Linked DNA regions of Homo sapiens: region 1 is linked to region 2. Evidence: promoter capture Hi-C in human tissues and cell types (Jung and others, 2019). All regions are on one chromosome and are shown on one strand. Each heading gives the region's core, a stretch centred on a gene start or on the middle of the fragment in contact. The rest is flanking DNA. Distances are from core to core; before and after follow the strand shown. Region 1 overlaps EVA1C (eva-1 homolog C). Region 2 holds the start of TMEM50B (transmembrane protein 50B).

Region 1 (2,700 bases), core at 98-2,597, 1.0 Mb before region 2:
GGGGCATGCAGATGGACAGGTCGTGGGGAGCGTTTTTGGGCTCCGACCCCACAGCAGCTTGTAGAATTGGGTGTTTACAGCTCCCGAAGCCCCAGTGGGCATGTGTTACAGTGGTCTCCTTCAGTTTTGCCATCTGCAGGCGGCTTGTGTTAATCAGCTCAATTAGACCCTCTGCCTTATCACAAAGACAGATGGCTTTCTGTATCCCAGGTTCTTGCCCTAGTGTACTCGGAAAATCAGATTTCGCATGGACTTGGAGAAGGAGTGCAAGGTTTTATTGAGTGGAGGAGGTGGCTCTCGGATGGGGAGCCAGAAGGGGGATGGAGTGGGAAGGTGGTCTTCCCCTAGAGTTGGGCTGCCCAGCAGCCAGACTCTCCTCCGACCGCCCCCGACTGATTTCCACATCGCCCCGCTGTCGAAAGCCCGCCAGCATCTGCTGGTGTCTGTCAGTGTGCTCTTCTGCTTCTCTGCTCCTCTCGACGTCCAGCCACTTGTGTGTGTGCCCACTAGGGTCTTGGGTTTTTTATGGGCACAGGATGGGGGTCATGGCAGGCCAGAGTAGTCTTGGAAAATGCAACATTTGGACATGAAAACAGGAGTGCCTGTTCTCACTAAGGTCCATGGGCACAAGCCCATGGGTGGAGCCCTCGCCAGGGACCCCACCCTTCTCTACCCAGCACTCCCCTGCCCCCCTTCCATGTCAACATGAAAGCTGACATTGGCTCCTGTGCCCCACCTCTGGGCCTGGTTTGGTGACCTCTGCACCAGAGCTGCTAGGGAGGCCCCATCCCACATGTTGTTGATTGAACAGCCCTTCCCCAGGGGAACCAACGTCCTCCTGTCCCCAAACCCATGGAGGAGTGGTGGGTTCCTGGGCCTCTAGTAACTCGACTGAATATTTTCCAGGTTACCTAACCAAACTCCTGCAAAACCACACCACCTATGCCTGTGATGGGGACTATTTGAATCTACAGTGCCCTCGGCATTCTACGATAAGTGTCCAATCGGCATTTTATGGGCAAGATTACCAAATGTGTAGTTCCCAGAAGCCTGCCTCCCAGAGGGAAGACAGCTTAACCTGTGTGGCAGCCACCACCTTCCAGGTATTGCCTTTTGTAGACATGTTAAGATGATACAGTTTCAACACACACTCTTTCTCTCTCTCTGGGTATAAATATATTTGTGATTATATAGTTCAATCCAAGCAAAACTGATCCATGAAAAATCCCAATTTATACAGATCACCAGTTTTGTAGGTGAGCTATTATTTGCTTCTCAAAGGATTTGTTGCCCAACAAAACTAAATAGAATTCCTACCTATTGTAGAGCCCCCTTTGTACACTTCAATATGAATTTATTTGTAGGTTTACTCCTTACTTTAGTATAGCAAAGTACAACCAGGATGGATTCCAACCTCCAGGCCCACATCTCCCATAAATACTCCTGTAGAAAGGGAAGGTAGGTTCTTTAATGGAAACCACAAGTATCTCTTTGAGGCAGACATCTGAAGTCATGACCAACTTTTTAGAAAATGTACTCAAAGGGCTGGGCGCGGTGGCTCATGCCTGTAATCCCAGCACTTTGGGAGGCCGAGGTGGGTGGATCATGAGGTCAGGAGTTCAAGACCAGCCTGGCCAATATGGTGAAACCCCATCTCTACTAATAATACAAAAATTAGCCGGGCATGGTGGCACGCACCTGTAGTCCCAGCTACTTGGGAGGCTGAGGCAGAAGAATCGCTTGAACCCAGGAGGCGGAGGTTGCAGTAAGCTGAGATCATGCCACTGCACTCTAGCCTGGGCAACAGAGCGAGACTCCATCTCAAAAAAAAGAAAATGTATTCAAGGAAGGAAATATCAGTAATATCAGTAACTGCCTTGTGCTTTTTAATGATTTGCTTCTTCAGTTGTAGATAATCATGTCATTCTTGCTTGGAGCTATTTTAGGCAGCCTTTACTGACTCCTTCCTTCTACTACATAGTACCAGGAATTGGGAGAGGTGTGGTTTAAGTCATTCTTTTTGTGGTTGGCATATTTAGGGAAAGATTTGGTATAGGAGAAGGTCAAACTAATATTTCAATGATGGTTTTAGACTGTGCATGGCTTTCAATCATCTGAGCAACTTCTACTTCACCATCCCTGGCCCCTAACATATATAACTAGTTGACCAGGATTACTGAGTCACTTGGCCTTGGATTTTTTTTTTTATGCCTCCCAAGTTCCATATGAATACATTTAAAGCAGGGAGTTTAGAGCAGGTGGAAAGTTGGAAGTCTGTTTGATTTTGTCGACCGTAGGAAATATGGATAAAGATACATTTGCTAGAACTAAGGAGAAATAAGAGTAGCTTTAATGCTGTGTAGCTCTCCCTAAGGCCCAAACAGGAGACGCAAACTAATGTGATGATGTAAGAATTTTTCTATTTCTCACACCATCCCTTGCTTCCACTCCAAGCATGGTAGTATCTGGGTATTTAGGTGATTGGTGAAACACACCAATTGAGTAGCCAAAATGAATGTGTCTGAATGACTCCCCATGACATGGTTTCTATACCTTGAGGAGAGACAACATGTTTCTTCAGGAGACAAGAAGTTGCTTTCCCTGTGTGCTCCACTGTCTTAGTCCTTTTTGTGCTGCTATAACAGTGTACCTGAGCCTGGGTAATTCATAAGGACCTGAGATTGATTTCTCACTGTTCTG
Region 2 (2,700 bases), core at 178-2,677:
AAAAGACTAGCCAGTGTAAGGCTGCTGTAACCCTAGTTGACAGAGAGGAGGGATTGGGGTGGTGAGTGGGAAGGCTGTGTCTCCGGAAGAAGAAATATACGTCCCCACCTCACTCTAATTAAACCTGCTTTTCCAGCGCGATAAATATTCAAGATAACTTTTGGTTTGCATTTCAATAACAAAGTCTTGCACCACTATCTTCAGTTTAAAAAAAAAGTTTAATGTTTGCTCTACGTTTGAAATGCATGCAGGTTTAAAAGACAAGAAACAAAATGATGAAAAAGTGTGACCGGCCTGAGAGTTCAGAGCCTCTGAAGTGTCAAGGGATCCACAGTGCAGGTAGGATGAAGAGTCTGAGAAGGGAGATGGGATCCTCCGAAAAGAGAAAATCGGGTCTTACAGCGCGATGTAAGACGATGCGGATGCCACTTCCCTCCCACCCCGTCCCGTCCGAGGCCTCCGCCCCCTGCCCCTCCGCACCCCCCGACCCAGGCACGCGCAGCGGGGAGCAGCCCAGCCTAGCCCGTCTCACTGCTTTGGTTTTGAAAGGTCACGTATTTACCTTAGAATTTCAGCACCTTCCAACTTACTGTTTTAAGTACCTTTAACCAGCCTATTGGCTAAAAACCGAAACGGTCCTACCCGCGACTACCACTGCTCCAGTGACAATGCTCTGCTGCTACTTATTTAACGGAGCTCAAGGTTTATAATTCTCGAAAGAATGTTGTTCCCCTTCCCTTTCCCCTCCCGCCTCTGTACTTGACTCTCGTAAGAATGAAATCAGAAAAGTGCAGAAAACACAGGCTCCTAGCAATGGTTCGGGGCAAACGGGAGGGGCGAAGAAGGGCTGGAGCCGCCCCGGGGCCCTCGCTCCGGCCTCGGGAGGGCGTCGCGGCCGCAGCAGGGCGTCCCGAAAACCGTCGCCTCCGTGCCCGCCGCGCGAGAAGGTGAAAGGCACGAGATGGAGCCTCTCCAGCCCTCCCCAGGAACGCAACCTGACGGCGTGACAGCGCGGCAGGGCAGCCTCCCCGGGCTGCTTGCGGGTCGCGGCGGCGCCACGGTCACGGTCGGCCCGAAGGGACGCGGGCAGGGGCAAGAAGGGGCGGCGGGGGCTCCGCGGGCCCGAGTCTGCAGGCCGGCGCCGAACGCAGGGAAAACCCGGCTGGACGGCCCCACAGCCCCCAGAAGGCCGGGCCGGACAGGGCCCGACGAGGGAGCCTCCTTACGCGCGGGCGGCGGGCGCGAGCCCTCTACGGTTGCCTGGCGCCGGAGACCCACAGACAGGACTCACCCAGCTTCCTCAAACGCCCACGCCGACTTCAGGCGCGCGCGCAGGAAGGAGACTGCTGCGCCACAACCCTGCCGGCGTCCCGCGGCTCCACCTCAGCCCCGGGAGCCCGGAGCTGGGAGCAGACGCGAGGATAGAGCGCCGGTGAGGCGGGGCGAGGCGCCGTGTGCACCGCAGCGACCAATCGGAGCGCAGCAAGTGGCCGGCCGGGGGCGGGGCGGGACGCGAGGGGGCGGGGAGAGGGCGTTGGCTGGGCGCAGCGGGACGCCGGGCGCTCCTCGCGACCAATCGGCGTGCAGCAAGTGGCCGGCCGGGGGCAGGGCGAGCTCCGAGGGACGGGGTGGGCTGCTCTGCAGGCCTCCCGGAGCCGGAGTTCAGACCCAGCTATCTACGGTTCCGGGCAGAGCGGGACGGGCCTCTCCTGTCCCCTGCCGGTGGGCGGCCGCCGCCGGGCTCCCACTGCTGCGTTTCTGCACGCTGACTTGAAGTGCAGTACCGTGAGATTACGTGCGGACGGAGCTCGAGACCCGGGGGACCAGGGTTTCCCTTCGCCTATGGCCGATCAGTCTTGTCTGTCTGCGAGCTGCCCAGAGTAGGGAAGGTGCTCCGGGAGGGTTCTCGGGAACGGAGGGTCTTTAGAGATGCCTTTTTCTAATCCCCTCAATTCAGAAATGGAGCCCCAGAAAGTTGAAGTTAGTAAACCAGGGCTACCCAGCGAGTGCTGGTTACCCGAGGTGATCCTCACAATACAACTAGTCTTCTGATTTCGCTCGGCGCTCTCCCGTCTATTCACGTAGATTTTTGTCTTTTTTTTTTTTTTTCGTCTTTCTTATAGTCAGATATCTTTCAGCCTCTTGGATTTTCAACATAACTTTAACAGCGTTTGGAAGCCCCGTCTAAATTTCCTACAGAAATGCCTATAACCATTTAGTTGTTTGGGGGAAAGTCGAGCTTTGTTTTTTGGGTGGTTTGTTTGTTTGTTTTGAGACAGGGTCTTGCTCTGTTGTCCAGGGTGGAGTGCAGTGGTGTGATCTTGGCTCACTGCAGCCTCTTACCTCCCACGCTCAATCAATCCTCCCACCTCAGCCTTCCGAGTAGCTGGGATTACAGGTGCGCACCACCATGCTTGGCTAATTTGTGTATTTTTAGTAGAGACGGGATTTCACCTGGCTGATCCTGAACTCCTGACCTCAGGTGATCCACCCGCCTCTGCCTCCCAAAATGCTGGGATTACAAGCGTGGGCCACTGTGCCCAGCCAAGTAGAGTTATTATCAGTGGAAATCTAAAAAGCATTTTACTTGAGGCATAATGAAGTAAAAGGTTTTGTATCATGGAATTATCACCAAAAATGCCATCCTGGATAATGTTCTCCTATAGCTCTTATACATGGGCTAGGATCTAGGTGTTCAAT

Evidence for each region. Contacts are between HindIII fragments. The study calls those that stand out against the background at their distance.
Region 1: a fragment that was not itself captured here is called in contact with the fragment with the promoter of TMEM50B in region 2 in 1 of the 25 tissues and cell types used here (heart left ventricle).

What each region holds. Positions count from the first base shown.
Region 1 is chr21:32,452,406-32,455,105 of GRCh38, forward strand. EVA1C (eva-1 homolog C) reads left to right here. Exons shown (of 8, transcript NM_058187.5): 2 at 907-1,103. It also overlaps the pseudogene LOC101928078. Among named protein-coding and RNA genes, the nearest start is that of EVA1C, 41 kb to the left of the region's middle. The HindIII fragment of the contact is 7,901 bases long and covers 1-2,700 here.
Region 2 is chr21:33,478,547-33,481,246 of GRCh38, forward strand. TMEM50B (transmembrane protein 50B) reads right to left here and starts at 1,428. Exons shown (of 7, transcript NM_006134.7): 1 at 1,292-1,428. The HindIII fragment of the contact is 12,756 bases long and covers 1-2,700 here.